Regions from separate parts of the Homo sapiens genome. Here all the other regions are linked to region 3. Evidence: promoter capture Hi-C in 16 types of primary human blood cells and fetal thymus (Javierre and others, 2016). All regions are on one chromosome and are shown on one strand. Each heading gives the region's core, a stretch centred on a gene start or on the middle of the fragment in contact. The rest is flanking DNA. Distances are from core to core; before and after follow the strand shown.

Region 1 (2,700 bases), core at 182-2,681, 520 kb after region 3:
GGGGCTTCTTTTTGAAATGAATGAACAGACAATGAAAATGAATGAATGCACATACAGTAGTGAGACAATGCAGGTTAATCCAGGGTTTACTTCAGTAATCTACTGACAGCAGCCCTCCACTGAGGAGGGGTTAGGAAGCTTAAGATGAAGAAAACCTAAAAATCAAGCCGAGTTTTGAAAAAATGTTAACTGTTTCCACTGTAAGTTTACAAAGTAAGGTGGCAAACTGAGCAAAATAAATCTCATTTTTAAAAATGAATCATGTTCACTGTTATGCAGCCAGCATTATGAGCAATTAAGTGTTTCAAGTGGTTGAGAAAACAAGAAAGGCGTTTCAGGTTCCAGTTCCTATTCTTGAGCTTTCAAAAGCCTGTGAAATCTGGCCATTGGGGACAGATGCATGGAAGACTTAACTGGCCTGAGAGATGGGCACTTTCCCTTCCTGAAGAAGTCCTACACCTCTGTAAATTGGGTTCAAGCCAGTCAAGAATTCTCAACTTAAGCTGTATCAGTGTGAATTCAAATTTCTCTAAGTTAAGAGATTCTCGGAAGGAAAAACAACTCTATTTTCAGTCAATTAAAATTAGCAAGAAAACAAGTACATTTACAAAGGGTCATGCTCCAGAAGTTATTCTCATAAGAAAGTGGTTGGGAATTTGCCTTCCACATTCCCATGGAAACCCTGTTAAATAACACCTGAGCCCACAAAGGCCTACTGACCTCATCCCATCTGAGGCATGAATACCAGCAGCCAGGCCACGTGCCTTACCTTGGGAGTAGCCTGCACCGCTTCCAGAGACTGCCTTCTCTCTGCTTTCCTCGTGAACACATTTCTTTAAATAACACTCCCTGTTACATGCCTTCTGTTGTTCTCCAGAAATCAGTCAAGTCACCGTACCTGACATCTACCACCACCTGCTTTCCTGAAACTGCTCTGGCAAAGTTATCAGGGGTTTTCTGATCTCCAAGTCCAGTTATTTCTCTGAAACATTCAACTTCACTGACCTTCGGACAAGCCCTCTTTGCATTGCTTTTAGAGCTAATCCCTTCTCTCTCTCCCTCTCTGAACTTTCTCTCATCTGTTGTGCCATCTTACCATCTTCCCTTTCTCACTAGATGATGCCTTCCTTTGCCCATTTTTTGTTGTTGTTGTTGTTGGTTGGTTCGTTGGTTGTTTTCTGAGACAGAGTCTGGCTGTTTCACCCAGGCTGGAGTGCAGTGGTACGATCTCAGCTCACTGCAGCCTCTGCCTCCTGGGTTCAAGTGATTCTCATGCCTAAGCCTCCCAAGTAACTGGGACCACAGGCGGGTGCCACCACACCCAGCTAATTTTTCTATTTTTAGTAAAGATGGGGTTTCTCCACGTTGGCCAGGCTGGTCTCAAACACCTGGTCTCAAACATCAGGTGATCTGCCTGCCTCAGCCTCCCAAAGTGCTGGGATTACATTACAGGCATGAGTCACCATGCCCCGCCGTCCATCTTTAAATGCCAGTGTTTCCTTAGTTCTATCATAGGCCTTCTCTTTATCCTACCCCTTCCTTATGGAGAGACTCATTTTTTCCATGATTTATTATAAAATGCCTGGCACATGTTAAGTGCTCAATAAATGTTAGCTTTCATCATTATCCTTCAAAACCCAGTTCAAATGTCACCTCCTGTCCAATGTCTTAGCCAACCTCCTCCACACTTCCTTCTCCTCCTGAAGAATCCTCCATGATTTGTGCTCTCAAAGAACCTTACATAAACCTCTAGTATAACAATTAGCACCAGCCTAGGCAACATGGCAAAACCCCATCTCTACAAAAAAAGAATTAAAAAATTAGCCAGCATGGTGGCACACACCTGTGATCCCAGCTACTCAGAAGGCTGAAGTGGGAGGATCGCCTGAGCCCAAGGAGGTTACGGCTGCAGTGAGCTGTGATCGCACCACTGCACTCCAGCCTGGGTGACAGAGTGACTCAGTCTCAAATTTTTTAAAAAACAACAACAACAAACAATTAGCACAATATATATAATACGTTCATAGGCTGGTCTCCCTTACCAGACTGTGAGCCGCTCCAGGAAAGGGATGACATCATTGAATTGTATTCTACAAACATCATTAAGTGTCATCTACAGGTCACACACTGATACAGAAGACCTGGGGCATGTCAAGAACCATAAAATGTGATCTTTGTCATTAACTCACACTTAAGCAGAAAAAGCAGACATCAAAACCAATAACTAAAACACCACTGGGGGGAAAGTGTGATATTCATTCAATCAATCAATCTGTATCAAGTGCCAAGCACTCCATTAGGTACTAGAGGTGCAGGGTTAACAAGACAGAAAAAGAGACATGGAACTATATTCTAATGATTCTTTAAAAAACCAGAAACTGCTCCTTGTTTGTCAGATGTTTCTAACAAAAGGTTTTTCATTATTGTGTAAATTGGACTTGACTTTTTCAGTTGTTCCTTCTTAGTCATATCACGTATGATGCAAGACCTATGGAGCAACAGCTTTCTTTATATCTCCCAAAGAATCAAGCATGATTTGAATACTGAATCCTTAAAGCAAATCAAAATTTATTTAACAGCCTTCAGAGGTCATTTCAAGAGGGAATAGATAGGGCTGCTAACAGAAATATGAATTAAAAAAAAATTCAGATCTTAGAGAATAAAAATAGAAGGATAAATAGTTCCAAGATTATTCATACC
Region 2 (2,700 bases), core at 42-2,541, 550 kb before region 3:
ACAGAGTAGGGAGCTACACAGAAAACGGGCTTGAGAAATATACACAGTGGGTCCCATGAGTCTGAAAAATATCAAGACAATGCACAGCGTGAAATGCTACAAGGCTGGGCAAAGAACAACTGTGGAGTTATGAGAGGAGCGTATTTCCACAATACACACAGACTGCGGAATCATTTGCATTACCACCAGATAGCATGGAGAGCCCTCATTGAGCCTCTTTACTTGGAGAATGCAGTAAAGACTCCATCCAGAAGGACTACTCTGCAGTAGTGGGCTAACCCATTCCTAGAGGAAAGGTTTCTCTAGCCCTGCCCAAGCACAACTTAAAAGCAAGTCTCAAAACCATCTAACTAAATACTTATATTAGAAAAGAAGTAGTATCAACAATCAATGATCTAAATTTATTAGAGTCTAAATTCCCACCACAAGAGGCTGGAAAAGAGAAGAAAAGTTAAACCAAAGTAAGCAGAAGGAAGAGAATAAAAATGATAACAAAAATAGAAAACCCAAGACAAACTGAGAAAATTTATGAAACCCCAAGCTGGGTTTTTGACAACATCAGTAATATTGGTAAATATCTAGCAAAACTGATACAGGAAAAAAAGGGAAGACAAAAAATTATCAGTCAAGAATTAAAGAGGGGACATCATTAACTATCCTATAGATTTTACCCAGATAATAAGGGAATATTAGTAACAAATTTATAATGACAAAGTTGGATTGTTGGGAAAAGCATCCTGTGGTAGCAGTAAGTAGCCATCCAACAAAAGCCACTATAACAATAACAAAAACACATCATTCATTAACCAATTTTATGTGGCAGGTCCTGGTTAAAGACAGTGGAAAGAAACCAAAACCAACTAAAGAAGAAAAGCAAGGATTATTTATTCAGTGTTTGCTATAGCAAGGGGAGTCTGCCACTGTCACTTGTGTTTTGGGAGAGAATCAAAGGCAAGCAGAGGAGTGGGAAGCTTCATAGTGAGAAATAAAGGGAAGGCTTCAATCATACCCTGACTGGAGGCTGTTGTCTTGGGGAAGTTGGAGGTAGGCTAACCAGAAGCAGAACATCCTCTGTGATTGCTTAGGGGTGCATATTTGGCTTTCTCTGGTTTGTCCTAAGTTTGGAGTGGGGACAGATATTGGGAAAGCTGTCAGTTATGAATCAAGTCCTGGCCATTTTGAGCCGATTGTTACAGAAGTTTTTGCTTAGCTTCCTATATTGTTTCTACAGATAGCAGCCTGACTTATAGCAGGCTGGCTTCCTGGACTATTTATTGAAGTTAACAGATTGGCTTTCTGGACAAGATTCTGGAGGTTGATGGTCAAAGTTCTATTTTTATACATGGATTAGTTCATGTCAGTTTGTATATTCAGTCCCTCAGTAATAAATGATATAGTGATACCCAATTCATTCTGAAAGCATAATGAAAAGAGTGACCCAGTCTTCCTGGGAGCATCCGAGAAGCCTTTACAGTGAAGCTAATATTTGAAGTTGCCTTAAATTCTGAGGCAAAAAGAAGATGAGAAGAAATTGCTACCAGAGATGACCACATTAAAAAAAATAATAAGCAGGTGGGTGGGTGGTGTGTTTGAAGATTAGTGACCTTTTAAAGAAGCTTGAACATAGGCGGGTGGAGGCAGACAGCCAGGAAAGAAAGGTGGAACCAAAATGTAATGGACTTTGAGTGTTGTTCTAAGATGTAATCTTATGGGCTCCAAGGGAGACAGGATGCTTTAAAGCCAATAGTTATAATATTAGACTTGTATTTTAGGAACATGATCCTTTTGATAGTGGAAAATATGCATGGGGTGGGTCAGGAAACTGGAAACTTGCACACAAGCTAGGATGGTATTTTACCAATTGGAGGAAGTGGTGGGAAAGGCCTTGATTTGGGCAGGGACGGTGGGGATACAGCAAAGGGCAGATAGAACAACCAGGGCAACATTTTGGACATGCAGTGCGTGCTCCGTAAATATCTGTTATATTTTTAAGTGAATAAATGGGACATTTAGGAAGTGGAATGGGTTAGGTTTGGTGACTGATTGGATATTATAAGGACAGGAAATAGTCAAGAACTACTAAAGTTTTTAGCTTCAGTGACTGATTGTATAGCAATGCTATCAGCCAAAGTGTGAAAAATAGGGGTGTGGCAGTTTATGAGTGAGGATGCCAAGTTTCATTTGGGGCATGTCTTTAGGGCTTATAAAATTGGAATCAGGGTTTGGGGGGGTCACTGATGGCACATAGGTAATAGCTGGAATTATGCAAAGAGGTGGGATTGGTCAGAAAGACTTTCCAAAGCTAGGGGAGAGGGTCCAGTCCTTGAATGCACTGATTCTCACTTTTTAAAATTATTTATTTATTTTTTTTGAGCCAGAGTCTCACCCTGTTGCCCAGGCTGGAGTGTAGTGGTATGATTTCGGCTCACTGCAACCTCTGCCTCCCAGGTTCAAGCAATTCTCATGCCTCAGCCTCCTGAGTAGATGGGACTATGGGCACATGCCCAACTAATTTTTGTATTTTTAGTAGAGATGGGGTTTGGCCCTGTTGGACAGGTTGGTCTCGAATTCCTGACCTCAAGTGATCCACATGCCTCAGCCTCTCAAAGTGCTAGGTTTACAGGCATGAGCCACCATGCCAGCCTGCACTGATTTTTAAACAGTGGATAAAAGAGGAAGAAACAGTGTTTGCCATTAAAT
Region 3 (2,700 bases), core at 88-2,587:
ATTTTCAAAATGAAACCCAAGAACAAATACAACAGATCCATTCCAATCCAAAACGACATTTACCTGTTCTACAGGAACGCCAAAATATTCCAGCATCTCTCTTAAGATATTCAGTATGAGAGACATTGATGAAGCAAATACAGAAGCCAATTCAAAGGAACATTATCAGTTTCTTGGTGCCTTTGGGGAAAATTTTAGAAAATGTTACTCTTGACAAATAAATGCCAAATTGTACTACATAACCTGGAAAAGTCCTCTTGATACACGACACAGTCAACTAATTTCTCCTAGCCAGCATTCTTTTAAGTCAGAGAAAAAGAAAGGAAGGGGAAGTCTGGGGGAAAGAGAGGGTTGTAAAGGAAATTTCAATTAATTGGTTAGATTACATTAAAACCTCGTAGGATGTTTGAGCCTAGTTAATAGAGACCAATCAACAAACTGGACATCTACTTAGTAGGCAAGGCTTCAAGTTACATGCCACAGCGAAGCTCGCTCTTTCCTGAAAGCTTTGGGCTGAGACTCTTAGCAGATGGGTGAGTTTAGCCAACCCTTGAAAGCAGGCAAGGGACGACTCAGTTTTTAAAAAAATAAACAGTAGCTCTTCTCACACACATATCCTCACGTGTCAAGGGTGGGGCCAGGTGAAGATAACTGAATCATGGGGGCAGCTTCCCCCATACTATGCTCGTGGTAGTGAATAAGTCTCATGAGATGTGATGGTTTTATCAACAGGAGTTCCCCTGCACAAGCCCTCTTGCCTGCCACCATGTAAAATGTGACTTTGCTACTCATTTGCCTTCAGCAATGATTGTGAGGCCTCCCCAGCCATGTGGAATGCCCATCCCTCCTCACTCTTTTAAAATGAGAAGCATGAATTCCAGATACGGGACGTGACTTGGTCACCCATCTAGTAACAGGCCGTGACCAGAGCCGGATCGCGTCCCTCGCTTTGGTCACAAGCTTCCTGGTGCTCTCCAAACACAGCGTGGTAGCCTTGCTCACCTTCCTCCGAAGCCGAGCCCCCGGGAATCACCAGAACATCAAGCGGAGGGCGTTAGGAATCCTCAATCAAATTCCAGACTGCGCCACTCCTTGTGCAGATCGCTCAGACGTCTACCCAGACCTCGACCCAGTTTCCACCCGCGCGCCTCGGCTTGCAGCCACAGGCGGTAACGATGCCCTCAGCGAGGAATAAGAGGTCAACCCGGTGCCCAGCCCTGGAGCCTCACGCTCAGCCAGGGTAATGTTATGGGAAGCGCGCCCCCGTCCTCCTGCGCCCAACCAACCCACCTGCTAGTCCCTAGGACCGGACTGCTACTTCCGCATGACAGGACTGCTACTTCCGCATCCCAGGACGAAATCAAACTCCGCGGGCCAGGACCCGTAACCAGCCTCATTGGGCAAAACTGAAGATCGCTGCTTCTGATTGGTCATTGCATGATGTCAGGCAATTCGGGAAGCGACTGCTTTTCCTTCTCAAGAGGCGGGTCTTCCGAGAGTCAGCCAATAGGAGCTGACGGGCAGGGCAGGTCGCGTTAGGACAGCGTCGCTCCCGCAGGGCAAGGTTTTAGGTACAAACTCGTGAGCTGGACTCGCAGTCCGGAGTTCGTACCCCACAGAACTCTTCGCAGGGAGTGTCTTACTCGCTACAGCCGGACCCTAAGCGCATCCGCCTTCCCAAGTTCATCTGACACAAAATCGCGATTTATTTTTTGGTCATTTCATTTGTTCAGCTAATATTAAAATACTTGTGGAACTGGCAGAAGCCAAGCACTACCCCCGAGGGTTTTGCAGCTTTGCAGTGGCTAGGATTCATTCTTTCGTTCACTAAATACACCTACGTATCCAGGCTACCGAATATTGGGCCGGACACTCTCCTGGCTTAGCCGAGGATGGCAAGTGATATGACAGGTGATATCCCAGTTTTCATTTCTGATTTGAGGTTATTGGCTTCATACGAAATAGCTTCCTCTTCTGAATTTCAGCAAGACGTGCACTGGAGTGATATAACAATTTAAGATGTGTGCCTGCTACTGACATAATTTGAAAATCTAAGTTTTGAACTAATTTATCTATGGTCAACATCACTTATTCATTCAACCAATAATAGATATCTACTACGTAGCAGACACCATTCTAAGCACGGAAAATACCTTAATGAGAGGGCAGGTCCTCGTCCTCCTGGAGCTTACAGGCCAGCGGGGCATCTCGTTCCATTCTAACCCTAATTTGCTTTTCTCTATAGCACTTATCATATATATTTAGTTACGCTTCCACTACCACCAAACAAAATTGTAGACTCCAGGAGAACAGGAAGTTGTTTTGATCCATGCTCTATCTTTCCCCAGTGCTTTAGAAGAGTGTCTGGTATATAATAGGCATTCAGTCTATTTGTTGAATAAAATACCTAAATGTGGAATGACAGAAAAGATGATAATGATTTGGGACTAAGCAACTAGCAAAACAATTGATAGCAATAATAGTGATATGCCCAGTAGAGCTGGATACGGCTGAGTGAGCGCAGAACAAGGATGATGATGGATCAGAAACCCTAGATGGAGTAATTTTCTCAAGTTCCTTGTCCTTCCCTTTGCCCTTGTGAATAAATCACGACTTTATAACCCCCTCCCTTTCCCACTCTCTTATCAAACAGCAAACAGACAGGGCCAGAATGAAAACATCCCTCCAGAATGAGAACGG
Region 4 (2,700 bases), core at 178-2,677, 750 kb before region 3:
TTAAATTCTCCACACTGCTATCAGAATGACCTGACTAAAAATGTAAATCGGATAATGGCACTCTCCTGCTGAAAATTTTTGAAAGGCAATCTGTAAGAGAAAATGATTACTTTGCCTAGGATACAAGATTCTCCATCTCCCTGACTAGTTTCATCTCTCGTTAGCTTCTTGTTCCAATTTTATGCAATATTGAATCATGTGTACCATGCAGTTTTATGCAACATTGAATTATGTGTACCATGAAAAACAATCCATAGCCTTTCACGCCCCGTCCTTACTCATATTGTCCTCTCTTCCTGAAAATTCCTCCTTTTACACTCCTGCATCACAGCCAAATGTTGTCCATCCTTTGAATCTTAAGCAGGTTGACTGACTCCTTCAAACACTCCTACTCCCTATTAGACTTCGGATACTCATTCTATATATTAGACTTTGGATGCTCATTCTATAGTTTCATAGTTTACTTTGTATTTTCTCTATCCCCAGCATCTACCACAGTGTCTATGAAATAGTTGGCATTTCATGAACATTTGTTGAATGAATAATGGATAACATATATTGAGCTCCTTCTAGGAGGTATGCATTGTAGGTGTTTTATGTACTTTTCATCTGTCCTCACAACTGCATTTAAGTACCTGCTTTTCCAAAGGGAAGTTATAACTCTGACTGCTCATTCTTAGTAGGGTGTTAGTTTCAGAATACAATCCCCAGACTAGCGGATGTGTAACCCTGTTATCATCTCTTGCTTCTCCATTTACAGTAGCATGCAGAGGTGCAGTGGGGTGGGGGAGGTCAGGGAATATTTCATAGCAGAAGTGACATTTAAGTAAAGACCAAAATAATGTGTAGAGTTGTCCAGGTTAGGAAGGGTTTCCAGGTAGAAGAAGGTGGCGTATAGTGTTCACTACAAGAAAGTTTGGTATAATACAAGAACTGGAAGAAAAAAAAAAAAAGTTCAAGTTGGCTAACTAAAAGGTAGAGAATGAGACTAGGGGCTTTTGGAGGAGACAAAACAAGAGAGTTAAACAAGCTATGAAGAGACCCAGACAGTATTGGTCAGTGGAATACCACTATAGAATTTTATGGAGTGAAATTTTCAAATTTTAATATCATAAAGATAACTCTGGCTGCAGGGTGGAGAACAGACAGGAAGGAAGCAAATCTAGATCTGGGAATACCATTTAAGATGCCGTTGCTGTAAGCCATGTAAGAGACAAAGGTGGCATGGTCAAGGCTAAGAAAAATCAGAATGGAGAGAAATGGACCAATTTGAGAAATTTTTAGGAGGTAAAAATGTCAGGACTTAGTGATTGATTGGATGGAAGAGTGAATGATAAGAAATAATAAAAAACGATGACCAGCTGTTTTGCCTTCCCCTTGGCAAGTAAAGAGGTGGCAAGCATGAAAGGGGAGTGAGGAAATAAATATGTTGGGTCTAATGGGAGCCAGGTTTCTCACTGACAGAGAAGGACGTTACAAATTGAGAGAGGAAGAATTCCACAGTGACCTTTGTGGTGATGTTGAATTGGAATTGAATATGTCAGTGTCAACTCATAGTTTTCAATATATACATAAACATATGTAAAAATAAATATAGAGGAAAGTATGTCTGTATGTGTGTGCGTATCTATCTATTATGCTCTTCCTAGCTCTATCTGCTGAAAGGGTTTCAGAGTAATGGTATACTAGAAGCAATGAGCACATGTGCCTAGATCTTGGTTTCTGAACAGTATTATTCACTAAAAGTAACTGGGTCCCTTGGAGAAATGGTTGATTTTAGAACAGGAGCCTGGAAAATTCTTGTTGCACCAGAAGTTAAGGAAGTTAATACAGAATGAAGAAACATATCAAAAGGTCACAGAAGCCAGCTTGAAGGAGCCACCACTGGCCACATCTGGGTCAATCTGAGCACCAATATAATGTTAATGGATTATAGTCCGCTAAATAAAATAGGAATATTTGAGCCCATACTAAAATGAATAAATGATTTTTTTGAAAAATCAGGATAAAGAAAAGCTCTGCCTTACATAAAAATGCCAACTAAATGTAATGAATGTAGACAGTGTTATATGTAGAAACATCATTATTTGGCAGTCATGATAGTAACAGTTGATTCAGACTAGAATCATCAGTGTATGCTAAAACTAGAGGGTGAGAGTATTAAGAGACATATAATATTTATATAGTCTCAAAGTATCTCTCCAGCAAATACTTATTAATTACACAGAGAAAAATTAGAAAACTTGACAGTGTAGAAATCTGGCACTGGTGAGCGAAGTTACCATCAGCAGTCATGAGACAAATCAGCATCGTGTATGTCCTGGTTAGAGGCACTTAGAATACACTTCTGTGACATTCCTGCCAAAAATGTGTAATCCGAATCAATCGTGAGGAAAAAATCAGACAACCCAAATGTCCCAAATTGAGGGACATTCTACAAAATAATAGACCTGTACTCTTCAAAGATCAAGGTCATGAAAGACAAAGGAACAACTAAAGAACGTTTTTAGATTGAAGGAGAATTAAGATACATGACAATTAAGTGGAATACATGATTCTGAATTGAATCCTTTTGCTATAAGGATATTATTGGGACAACTAACAATTTGAATGGGGTCTCTGGATTAGATGGTAGTATTTTAACAATATTAATTTCCTGATTTTGATGACTATAGTGACATAGATATTTTTGGTTTTAGA
Region 5 (2,700 bases), core at 1-2,500, 570 kb after region 3:
TAAGACTCTTCATGATCTAGCCCCAGTAAAACACTCTACAGTCTCCCCACCCAATATTTTTTTCACCGTATCCCTTCCATCTGGCCAGGCTGAGTCCTGGCAGCCACGACCCCCTATGGATCATGCTGGTTTAAATCTCCTGGGTTGCTCATGTTATTCCTGCTCCTACAAAGATCTCCATCTTCTTGTCTACCTAAAGAAAACCTACTCATCTGTGTGCAATCACCATAAAGACTTATCTCTCTTCTGCAGCCTTTCCTGCAATTTCCATACCTCTGGCACGGACAATCACCTTTTAAAAATACCCCATATAAATTTATCATAGCCTCTACAGTATTTTGATTACACTTAACTAATTACATGACTTCTCTTTTAGTCTTCTTCTCTAATCTCTTGAGGCCATGGACCATATCCCATTATTTTGAATCCCAAATGCCTAGTACTGTTCTTGGTATATGGTTAAGATGATCATACGACTTGGTTTGTGCCTGTTGACCTGGCTTAATAATTACACCCTCTTTACTCTCAAAAGTATCTTGGTTTGGCAGATAAATTATATTTGGTCATTCTCCACATAGTATATGCCTGGCAATAAATGAATGAATGAGCACCAGCATCTGAGCACTTATTACCATACAATATATACATGTATAGTAATACTTTTTAAAAAAGTTGTATATGATGATGTGCTGCTTTTTTGCTTAGCTTCATTAGAACTGGCCAGCTCCTTTTTCTCACTTGCCAAGCATGGGGAGTTGGTTTGGAGTTGGTGTTTCATCTTTTCCAGTTACAGTGTGAAAGTAGCCCACCAGCCCACGCTCTTATTCCTAAAGACCGCAGTGACTCCACGGACTTAAGTTCTCATTGCTTCCAGTTTCCTTGGGCAACGCAGCACGCAATTTTGGACGCGCTGCGTGGTTTCAGAGTCGGCTGTAACTTTTCTCACTTTATAATCATCAGGAAAAGTTCCTGATGCCAGTCTTCCAAACGCTCAATGAAATAAAAACCAGATAGCACCGCAGAGGAGGCTGAGATGCAACGACAAAAGCTGTCGTAATTATTAATAATACCTAACCCTGGATCACTCCCCTGATAGATCTGTATCTTTGCAGCAGGCGCAATTCAGTTTGGATTCACCCAAAACAAAAATGGTCTCCGTCGGAGTCAACGCCCTTTCCTGTGCGGACCAATCAGAATCTCAAACACAGGGCACGGGGCCCACACTTCCGTCCGGTCTGCCTGGTCTCTCTAACCGCGCCAGTGTGCCTCCGACTCGGAACGGCTTCCGCGGCCGGGGCAGCGAGGGCCGGGGGCGGCGGGCGGGATGAGTGCGGTGTGCGGTGGAGCGGCGCGGATGCTGCGGACGCCGGGACGCCACGGCTACGCCGCCGAGTTCTCCCCGTACCTGCCGGGCCGCCTGGCCTGCGCCACCGCGCAGCACTACGGCATCGCGGGTGAGGCGGCGCCGCGCAGCTGGGGCCGGGGGGCGGAGGCGGAGGCGGGGGCCAGCCGGGCTCCAGTTCCTCGCGCTCGAGGGAAAGCCCCTCTGAGCGTAGACGGTTCCGCGGGTCCACGCCAGGGGGCAGAAGAGGCGCTGGTCGGCGCTTCTCCTTTCTTTGCCGAGTGCGAGGAGTTGGTCTGAAGCAGGAGTCGATCTTCCAGTTGTGTGCAAGTGCATATACGTGTAGCCTAGTAGCCCGTGTCCTTGTTCCTTGAGACCGCGCTGCCTCCGCCACGTGTCACACGCCCAGGCACACGTCCCCGTAGGGAGAGCCGGGGGAGCCTGCGCGGTCCCTTGGATCGGTCCGCTCGGCACAGCAGTACGGGGAAGACGGTCTGAGCCAGAACCGACCCAGGGCTCGCGAGTTGGCCCACAATTCCCAGTCTGCATTCGAGCACTGAGCTGCGACCTGCGGGCTGGCCTTCCTAAGGACGATGCTCCTGAATGGACGCCTGGAGTCCCACGGGTGACACCATGAAATATATCAAGTTCAGTTCTTACCTGTAGTTGTCTAACGAGGAATGCACACATTCGCAAGTAGGTGTTACAGACTCCAGTTAATTGTCTCCCGTCGCGCGCATTGGCTCAGCCTGTGGTTAAAGCTGCTCAGGAGGCTGAGGCGGGAGGATCGCTTGAGCCCGGGATGTTGAGGCTACAATGAGCTGAGATCACATCACTCTGCCCCAGCCCAGTGAGCTGAGATCACATCACTCCACTCCAGCCTGGGTGACAGACTGAGACCCCGTCTTAAAAAGAAAAAAGGCCAAGCGCCGTGCGGTGGCTCACGTCTGTAATCCCAGCACTTTGGGAGGCCGAGGTGGGCGGATCACTTGAGTTCGGGAGTTCCAGACCAGCCTGACCAACATGGAGAAACCCCATCTCTACTGAAAATACAAAATTAGCCGGGCGTGGTGGCGCATGCCTGTAATCCCAGCTACTCGGGAGGCTGAGGTAAGAGAATAGTTTGAACCCAGGAGGCAGAGGTTGCGGTGAGCCGAGATCGTGCCATTGCACTCCAGCCTGGGCAAGAAGAGCAAAACTCCGTCTCAAAAAAAAGAGTCCATCTAGTCCGTGGACTAGATGAAAAGGCGTAGGTTCATTCTCGCTTTTGCCTTAATTCATGTCCTAGCTATTATACGCACTGAAGCGAGATGCAAAAACTCATTTCATAATGTCAGTGGTCTATTGTATTTTTTTGT

The links. The method cuts DNA at HindIII sites, captures the fragments that hold promoters and counts their contacts. A CHiCAGO score of 5 or more calls a contact.
Region 1: a contact is called between a fragment that was not itself captured here and the fragment with the promoter of MTFR2 in region 3, in 1 of 17 cell types (neutrophils). The highest score is 5.2, in neutrophils.
Region 2: a fragment that was not itself captured here is called in contact with the fragment with the promoter of MTFR2 in region 3 in 1 of 17 cell types (M2 macrophages); the score reaches 5.3 in M2 macrophages.
Region 4: a contact is called between a fragment that was not itself captured here and the fragment with the promoter of MTFR2 in region 3, in 16 of 17 cell types (fetal thymus, non-activated CD4 T cells, naive CD8 T cells and 13 more). The highest score is 27.2, in fetal thymus.
Region 5: the fragment with the promoter of PEX7 here is called in contact with the fragment with the promoter of MTFR2 in region 3 in 2 of 17 cell types (neutrophils and activated CD4 T cells); the score reaches 8.8 in neutrophils.

Annotation. Positions count from the first base shown.
Region 1 is chr6:136,772,486-136,775,185 of GRCh38, forward strand. The region is part of intron 1 of MAP3K5 (mitogen-activated protein kinase kinase kinase 5); the gene reads right to left. Among named protein-coding and RNA genes, the nearest start is that of MAP3K5-AS2, 10 kb to the right of the region's middle. RefSeq lists a silencer at 566-860. The HindIII fragment of the contact is 2,590 bases long and covers 137-2,700 here.
Region 2 is chr6:135,698,142-135,700,841 of GRCh38, forward strand. All of the region lies in intron 5 of AHI1-DT (AHI1 divergent transcript), which reads left to right. Among named protein-coding and RNA genes, the nearest start is that of LINC02524, 65 kb to the left of the region's middle. The HindIII fragment of the contact is 645 bases long and covers 970-1,614 here.
Region 3 is chr6:136,248,974-136,251,673 of GRCh38, forward strand. MTFR2 (mitochondrial fission regulator 2) reads right to left here and starts at 1,338. Exons shown (of 8, transcript NM_001099286.3): 1 at 1,003-1,338; 2 at 64-180. The coding sequence starts at 126. RefSeq lists enhancers at 788-1,007, 1,658-1,807. The HindIII fragment of the contact is 2,013 bases long and covers 959-2,700 here.
Region 4 is chr6:135,498,866-135,501,565 of GRCh38, forward strand. All of the region lies in intron 2 of AHI1-DT (AHI1 divergent transcript), which reads left to right. Among named protein-coding and RNA genes, the nearest start is that of AHI1-DT, 2.4 kb to the left of the region's middle. The HindIII fragment of the contact is 6,529 bases long and covers 1-2,700 here.
Region 5 is chr6:136,821,342-136,824,041 of GRCh38, forward strand. It overlaps PEX7 (peroxisomal biogenesis factor 7), which reads left to right and starts at 1,251. Exons shown (of 10, transcript NM_000288.4): 1 at 1,251-1,454. The coding sequence starts at 1,325. RefSeq lists enhancers at 822-971, 855-1,587, 1,588-2,320, 1,702-1,861 and a silencer at 1,152-1,531. The HindIII fragment of the contact is 4,798 bases long and covers 1-2,700 here.